Regions from separate parts of the Homo sapiens genome. Here region 2 is linked to region 1. The links are contacts of gene promoters, found by promoter capture Hi-C in human tissues and cell types (Jung and others, 2019). All regions are on one chromosome and are shown on one strand. The core of a region is centred on a gene start or on the middle of the fragment in contact, and the rest is flanking DNA. Distances in the headings are between cores, read along the strand shown. Region 1 holds the start of SHC2 (SHC adaptor protein 2). Region 2 overlaps TPGS1 (tubulin polyglutamylase complex subunit 1).

Region 1 (4,299 bases), core at 1,773-4,272:
GGGTCTTGGGGAGGCGGAAGTAGGTTCCGGGGAGGCGGAAGCGGGTCTTGGGGAGGCGGAAGCGGGTCTTGGGGAGGCGGAAGTGGGTCCCGGGGAGGCAGAAGCGGGTCTTGGGGAGGCGGAAGTGGGTTCCGGGGAGACGGAAGCGGGTTCCGGGGAGGCAGACGCATGTTCCGGGGGACGGGGAAGTGGGTTCCGGGGAGGCAGACGCGGGTTCCGGCGGAGGGGGAAGTGGGTTCCGGGGAGGCGGAAGCGGGTCTTGGGGAGGCGGAAGTGGGTCCCGGGGAGGCGGAAGCGGGTCTTGGGGAGGCGGAAGCGGGTTCCGGGGAGACAGAAGCGGGTTCCGGGGAGGCGGAAGCGGGTCCCGGGGAGGCGGAATCGGGTTCCGGGGAGGCGGAAGCGGGTCCTGGGGAGGCAGAAGCGGGTCTTGGGGAGGCGGAAGTGGGTTCCGGGGAGGCAGACGCATGTTCCGGGGGACGGGGAAGCAGGTTCCGGGGAGGCGGAAGCGGGTCCTGGGGAGGCGGATTCGGGTTCCGGGGAGGTGGAAGCGGGTCCTGGGGAGGCGGAAGCGGGTTCCGGGGGACGGGGAAGTGGGTTCCAGGGAGGCGGACGCGGGTTCCGGGGAGGCGGAAGCCGGTCTTGGGGAGGCGGAAGTGGGTTCCGGGGGAGGGGGAAGCGGGTTCCGGGGAGGCGGAAGCGGGTCTTGGGGAGGCGGAAGTGGGTTCCGGGGAGGCGGAAGCGGGTCCCGGGGAGGCGGAGGCGGGTTCCGGGGAGGCGGAAGCGGGTCCTGGGGAGGCGGAAGCGGGTCTTGGGGAGGCGGAAGAGGGTTCCGGGGAGGCGGAAGCGGGTCCTGGGGAGGCAGAAGCCGGTTGTACTGCGCAGGCCGAGCGCGCCTGGGGACCACACGTGGGGGAGTGAGGTTTCACAGCCAGCTTCTGGGGGCTCCCACAGGCTTTGGTGGGCCCGGGCTTGAGGCCCCCACCTCTGCCTGTCTCCTAACGGCCCGCTCCTCTGTGCATCTGAGTCTAAAGTTCCTTCTCCTTACAGAGACCCCTGATCCAGGTAGGCCTCATCTTGACTAGGTTACATCTGCAAGGACCCTGTTCCCAATATAAGGTAATAAGGTCAGACTCCTACGGCACAGGAATTGTAGGGGGACCCTTCTCAACTCGGTGTAGGGGGAAGGACCCCACTGAACCCAGCGTAGGGGGAAGGACCCCACTGAACCCAGCGTAGGGGGAAGGACCCCTCTCAACTCGGTGTAGGGGGAAGGACCCCACTGAAGCCAGCGTAGGGGGAAGGACCCCACTGAACCCAGCGTAGGGGGAAGGACCCCACTGAAGCCAGCGTAGGGGGAAGGACCCCACTGAAGCCAGCGTAGGGGGAAGGACCCCACTGAACCCAGCGTAGGGGGAAGGACCCCACTGAACCCAGCGTAGGGGGAAGGACCCCTCTCAACTCAGCGTAGGGGGAAGGACCCCACTGAACCCAGCGTAGGGGGAAGGACCCTTCTCAACTCAGTGTAGAGGGAAGGACCCTACTGAACTCAGCGTAGGGGGAAGGACCCCACTGAACTCAGCGTAGGGGGAAGGACCCCACTGAACTCAGTGTAAGGGGAAGGACCCTTCTCAACTCAGTGTAGAGGGAAGGACCCTACTGAACTCAGTGTCCAGAAAAGCAAAGACACAACCCAATGTGAACACAGGCTAATGTTCCTGGCCGCAGAGGCCGGGAGGAGCTGGGAGCACCCACCGGTAGTGGCGTGCGGGAGTGGCTGATCATTTTCCCAGACGCCGTAATGACTGCAGCTGTAGGACAGCTGCTCTCTCAGAAGACGGGGGACTATGCACGGCGCTGTCACCCCTGCAGGTGACTTCACACGGTTTACTATAAACCACAGAGAGGGGCAGACCCGTCAGCAGAGGGGAAGGTTACCCTCCTAGGTGGAGGCGTGCTGTGTCCAGGCGCCCGACTTCCCCGTGTGTTTGAAAAGGTTCATTTATCATAAGACCCAAGGTAAATAAACAAAGGCCGCTTCCTTGGCCGCCCTGGAAGTCCCTGCTGCCTCCCATCTGGAATCCTGGGGTCTGTCCGGGCGCCAGCCCCTTTCCAAACACCCCTTCCCGCACCCCCACCGCAGGCCAGCGTCTCGGGCCCCGTCTGTCATTCGTGAACAGCTGTCCGGGGGGCTCCGGTGGCAGAGACGCCCCGGCCGCTCGCCGCTCTCGGCCTCGCCCGCCCAGTCCGAGTGGGGGGCGGTGCACCTGCGCATGCGCGCCCCTCCCCCGCCGCCCTCTCCCCGCCCCTCCCCACGTGACGCCGTGGGAACCCGGACCCCAGCGCCTCCGGGTGGGGGCAGCCGCCGGCCGCCGGCCGGGGATGGGGGTCCGGGGTGGCGGGAGAGCAGGAAGGATGGGGAGGGGACACCTGGCTCGCGGGGTCCGGGGGTCCCGGAGGAGAGGGTGGGGGAGGGGAGGCCGCCGCGAACGGGCTCCCGGGGGGGGTGGGGGGGACTCACCCGCACGACGTAGGAGACCCCGGGCCCCAGGACCCTGGCGTCGGGGTGTAGCCAGCCGTGCGCGGGTTTGTGGATGAAGCTGCCCTTCCGGATCCACTCGGCGGCGGCGGCGGCGTCCCCGGACCCCGCCGCCCCCCGCCCGCCCCGCGACCCCCGCGACCCCGCGCCCCGACAGCGGCTGAGCGCGGGCAGGGGACAGGGCGCGGCGCAGCGGGGCTCGCAGGCGCCCAGGACGGCGGCCGCCAGCGCCGGGACGCCCCCCGGGCCCGCCGGCTCGGGTTGGGGGTCCGCGCCCCCCGAGGCCCCAGCCGCCCGCGCCGCCGCCGGGCCGCGGCCCAGGAAGCCGCCCGGGGCCGCGAACTTCCACTGCGGCATTCGGGGCAGCAACGCGCAGAAGGTGGTGGGCGCCTCGGGCTCGGGGGGCGCGGGGGGCGCCGGGGGCGCGCGCCCGCCCGGACCCTGCGTCATGGCCGCGGCCGCCCGACGGAGCCCGACCGGGCGCTGCGCCTGGCGCGGAGGAAGCCCTCCCGCTCCGCCCGCTCCCTCCCGCCCCCCGGCCCGGTGATGTCATCCGCCCGGCCCAGCGCGCAGCCGCGGGGGGCTGCGCCCCTGGGACCCCGGCCCTCCTCGTCCCGGAGCCTGGCCGCGAGGCTGGGGAAACTGAGGCCCTCCGAGGACACCGGGCGCTGGCCTGGAACCCGCAGCCAAGGCGGGACGGGGCTTTGAACCCAGAACCCCGTCAGCGACCCTCCCCGCTGCGCCCCCCACCCCCGCCCGCCGCCCAAGTTCGCAGAAGGACCGAGCTGGAGAAGCTTAGAAATTCCACATCCCTTCTTTCCCCTATTTCCTAGTGGGGAAACTGAGGCCCCGGGAGGCGCGGCCAGGGAAAAGAGAACCCCAGACCCTAAGGTCAGCCCCTCCCTCTCCGTTGTTGCAGCTAGAAGGTACCTTAGGGTCACCCCTATTTCTTAGTGGGGAAACTGAGGCGCGGGGAGGGGAAGGGGCGCGGCCGAGGGCTCACAGACGAAGCTCAAACCCAGGAGTGCCGGCTCGGGGGTGGGGGGGGGGGGCGGGGCTAGGAGCGGAGCCGGGCCCCTGCTCTGCGGCCTGTCCCGGCCTCAGTTTCTCCGGCTGTAACTCAGGGGAGCGGGCTGGAGGGTCGCGGCCCTTCTTCCCTCACTTCTGGGGAGCCCAGTCCCGCACCAGCTCATCTGAGCTCTGGGCCTCAGCCTCCCAGGCCGGTCGCTCCATCCCCAGCCTCAACCTCTCCGAGACCGGCCGCACCTTCCCTGGCCTCAAGGGTCGGTTCCTTCTGCACCAGAAAACGGGGTGTCACTGTCACCCCGGGACCCAGCCTCCTGGCCCGACTTGGCTGGAGCTCCCCTGCACCTGCCCCGCCCCAAGCAGGGCTGATTGCCGGGAACAAAGGGAGGGGCCGGGACGCGCTGGCAGGTGGGGAGGGAGGGAGGGGCGAGGCTGCCCGGAGCCCGATCGATAATTCAGGGGATGAGATCACAGCCGGCGCCGCCCGCGGGGCCGGGGAGGTGGGGGAGGGGAGCGAGGCGCGCGGTCGCGATCGGCCGTCTCTGCCGCGGCGCGTGTCGGACTCAGCCCCTGCGCGTCCGCGGGAGGAGCAGATCGTGGGCGCGATTGGTCGGGCTGGAGCCGCGGCTGGACCTGCGCGCGGTGTGTGTGTTGTGCGCAGGGTGTACGCTGTGTCTGGGTGCGTGTCCAGGCATATGCAGGGGATCCAGGCTGCTGGGTCCTGGGGTGTGTTCACC
Region 2 (4,108 bases), core at 21-2,520, 54 kb after region 1:
CCTCCTCCATAGCAGAGCTTTGACCCTCGAGCTCGCTGAGATGGCACGTCCATCCCTAAGCCCTGAACTGAGCAGCAGTGATGACCAGGGAGGCACGTGTTCACCAGGCACCCACCGTGCACCGGCCCAGCATTACTGAGCACCTACTGTGCACCCGCCCAGCATTTACTGAGCACCTACTGCATGCCGGCCCTGCATTACTGAACACCTACTGCACACCAGCCCAGCATTACTGAGCACCTACTGCATACTGGCCCTGCATTACTGAGTACCTACTGCACACCAGCCCAGCATTACTGAGTACCTACTGCACACCAGCCCAGCATTACTGAGTACCTACTGCACACCAGCCCAGCATTACTGAGTACCTACTGCACACCAGCCCCACATTTACTGAGCACCTACTGCACACTGGCCCCACATTTACTGAGCACCTATTGCATCCTGGCCCAGCATTTAGTGAGCACCCACTGCACACAACCCCAGCATTACTGAGCACCTACTGTGCACTAGTCCTGCATTACTGAGCACCTGCTGCACACCAACCTGCCCCGGCCCCACATTTACTGAGCACCTATTGCATGCTGGCCCAGCATTTACTGAGCACCCACTGTACACAGACCCAGCATTACTGAGCACCCACTGCACACTGGCCCCACATTTGCTGAGCACCTACTATGTACCAGCCCTGCATTCACTAAGCACCTACTGTACACCAGCCCTGTATTACTGAGCACCCACTGCACACTGACCCTACATTTACTGAGCACCTATTGCATGCTGGCCCAGCATTTACTTCACTCCCACTGCACACCGCCCCAGCATTACTGAGTACCTACCGTGTACTGGCCCTGCATTCACTGAGCACCTACTCTACACCGGCCCTGTATTACTGAGCACCCACTGCACACCGACCCCACGTTTACTAAGCACCTATTGCTTACTGGCCCAGCATTTACTGAGCACCCACTGCACACCGCCCCAGCATTACTGAGTACCTATTGCACACCAGCCCCACATTTACTGAGCACCTATTGCATTCTGGCCCAGCATCACTGAGCACCTACTGTGTACCAGCCCTGCATTACTGAGCACCTGCTGCACACCAACCCTGCATTTACTGAGCACCTACTGCATGCTGGCTTAGCACTTCCCCGGCACCTACCACAGGTGGCCCACAGAAAGGTGAAGTCGTGTGCCCAGGTCATGCCGGAGGGAAGGCTGCCCTCCTCACCATGAAGCTGAGCTCCCAGAAGGGAAAAGCGTAAGCCCTGAGGTTGGCCACTTCCTCTCTGGGACCCTTGGCCAGACCATGGGGCTGCCCTGAGCCTCAGTTTCCCTATATGTCCCAGAGGAAGTAACAGGCCACTAGCATGAGGCCTGGCCGGGAACTGATGGGGGGAGTGAGGCCAGGGGGTTAAGCAGCCCACCCAGGGTCCTGCAGCGGCCCCCACGCTGGCCACGGTGCTCCCTGGCCACTCCCTGGTGCCCTCCACGGGAGTGTGTGTCACACTACCAGCACACGAGTGGCACGTAGTAAGGCCTCAGGCTCCTCACTGGGGCAGGGAATCGAACCCACCCCAGAGCCGGCAGCAGGGCTGACAGCCTTCTTCTGTAAGGGGCCAGATAGTGAACATTTCAGCTTTGCGTGGCAGCCTCCATCCTGACATTCAGCTCTACGGTTCTGGTCGGAAGCTGCCACAGGCCACATGTCAGCGGACTGATGTGGTTATGTTCCGATAAAGCTTTATTTACAAAAGCAGGCAGCAGGTCGTATTTGACCCTCAGGCTGACTGTGGGGCCTTGCCTGTGGGATTGTGGGGAGAGAAATACCACCACTGGCCCCGAGCAGCAACTGTCACCTGTAATCCCAGCAGTTTGGGAGGCTGAGGCAGGAGGATCGCTTGAGCCCAGGAGGTGGAGGCTGCTGTGAGCCCTGATTGTACCACTGCTCTCCAGCCTGCACAACACAGTGAGACCCTGTCTCAAAAAAAAAAAAAAAAGAAAAAATGCAATGTCAGCTGTGTTAAATGTTCAGCACAGACTGGGCGCAGTGGCTCACACCTGTAATCCCAGCACTTTGGGAGGCCGAGGTGGGCGGACCACGAGGTCACTCGAGATCCAGACCATCCTGGCCGACATGGTGAAACCCCGTCTCTACTAAAAATACAAAAATTAGCTGGGTGTGGTAACACACGCCTGTAATCCCAGCAGCTCAGGAGGCTGAGGCAGGAGAATCGCTTGAACCCGGGAGGTGGAGGTTGCTGTGAGCTGAGATTGTGCCACTGCACTCCAGCCTGACAACAGAGTGAGACACTGTCTCAAAAAAAGAAAGAGGGCCGGGCGCGGTGGCTCACGCCTGTAATCCCAGCACTTTGGGAGGCCGAGGCGGGTGGATCACGAGGTCAGGAGATCGAGACCATCCCGGCTAAAACGGTGAAACCCCGTCTCTACTAAAAATACAAAAAATTAGCCGGGCATAGTGGCGGACGCCTGTAGTCCCAGCTACTTGGGAGGCTGAGGCAGGAGAATGGCGTGAACCCGGGAGGCGGAGCTTGCAGTGAGCCGAGATCCCGCCACTGCACTCCAGCCCGGGCGACAGAGCGAGACTCCGTCTCAAAAAAAAAAAAAAAAGGAAGAAAGAAAGAAAGAAAAGAAAAAAACAAATGTCAGTTGTGTTAAATGTTGGGCACAGTATTTGGCCACATGTAAACAGGCGCTGCTGCTGCAGGGAGGGAGACCAGAGGGTCCTGGTGTTGTGGGACAAAGAGTGGAGAGACCGAAAAAGGTTCAGGAGAGTTTATCAAGGTGATCACCGGCTCAGCTGGACATACATCCAGAAAGTCTGAGCCTCGAACAAAGGGCTTTTCCTATTTTTAAACATCGTAAGGCGGGAACTACGTGAGGCGGGAAGCAAGTTACAGAGGCGAGAAACAAAGGCAGTTAAGCATTACAGCATTTCTTTTTTCTTTTTCTTTTTTTTTTTTTTGAGACGGAGTCTCGCTCTGTCGCCCAGGCTGGAGTGCAGTGGCGCCATCTTGGCTCACCGCAACCTCCACCTCCCAGGTTCAAGCGATTCTCCTGCCTCAGACTCCCGAGTAGCTGGGACTACAGACGTGTACCACCACGTCCCGCTAATTTTTGTATTTTTAGTAGAGATGGGGTTTCACCATGTTGGCCAGGATGGCCTCAATCTCTTGACCTTGTGATCCTCCCACCTCGGCCTCCCAAAGTGCTGGGATTACAGGCGTGAGCCACCGTGCCTGGCCAACATTTCTCACATCTTGAGAAAAACATGTCTTACAACCTAAACTTATCGGTTTTGTGACCCTGCAGCCGTGCTAGGGAGGTAAGCAGGAACTCGCTGGGCCTGTAATAAACTGAGGAATGTGGAGTTGGAGAGTATAGATAAGGTCCACTGACTACAGAGAGAAGACAGGCTGTTAACATTCTCTTTTAACTTGAGTGTAAGGGTGGGGGTCACACTTTGCAGCAACTTTAAGAGGATTTTAAAATTTCTATGACTACTACTATTAGGTTAGAGCTGATTTCACTAATTCCTTCTTCACTGGGGCCAGATGCCCCAGACAGATGCCTGCCGTTGATTCAAGACATTTACTGAGCACCTACTGTGGGCAGGGCAGTGTTCTGGGCACCAGGGCTATAACCAAGACGAACTTCCGGCCCTGGAGGGCAGGTGCTCACACTGGTGGGAGACATGAAGCTCACAGGGATGTGGGACAGCGAGTGAGACAGGATGACCACTAGGAAGAAAACAGGAGGAAAGGAGTTAGGGGTCAGGGGAGGCGACATTTGAGGAGAGACCTGGAGGAGACCAGGGAGGAGGTGAGGGAGATCTGGGGGAAGGCAGTGTCACGGCCCTTGCAGAGGCCCTGAGGCCGGTCCAGTTGGAGCTGGGAAGCCAGGGCTGGATGGGAGCTGCGGGGAGGAGAGGCCTGAGCTGGGTGGAGGCTGGGAGGGGGGAGGCCAGGCTGGGTGGGGGCTGGGAGGGGGGAGGCCAGGCTGGGTGGGGGCTGGCCAGGCTGGGTGGGGGCTGGGAGGATGGAGGCCAGGATGGGTGGGGGCTGGAAGGGGGGAGGCCCAGGCT

What was found. The method cuts DNA at HindIII sites, captures the fragments that hold promoters and counts their contacts. A contact is called where the count stands out against the background at its distance.
Region 2: a fragment that was not itself captured here is called in contact with the fragment with the promoter of SHC2 in region 1 in 3 of the 25 tissues and cell types used here (dorsolateral prefrontal cortex, mesendoderm cells and thymus).

Annotation. Positions count from the first base shown.
Region 1 is chr19:458,011-462,309 of GRCh38, forward strand. SHC2 (SHC adaptor protein 2) reads right to left here and starts at 3,023. Exons shown (of 13, transcript NM_012435.3): 1 at 2,519-3,023. The coding sequence starts at 2,986. The HindIII fragment of the contact is 8,702 bases long and covers 1-4,100 here.
Region 2 is chr19:513,414-517,521 of GRCh38, forward strand. The region is part of intron 1 of TPGS1 (tubulin polyglutamylase complex subunit 1); the gene reads left to right. Among named protein-coding and RNA genes, the nearest start is that of MADCAM1-AS1, 7.6 kb to the left of the region's middle. The HindIII fragment of the contact is 7,591 bases long and covers 1-4,108 here.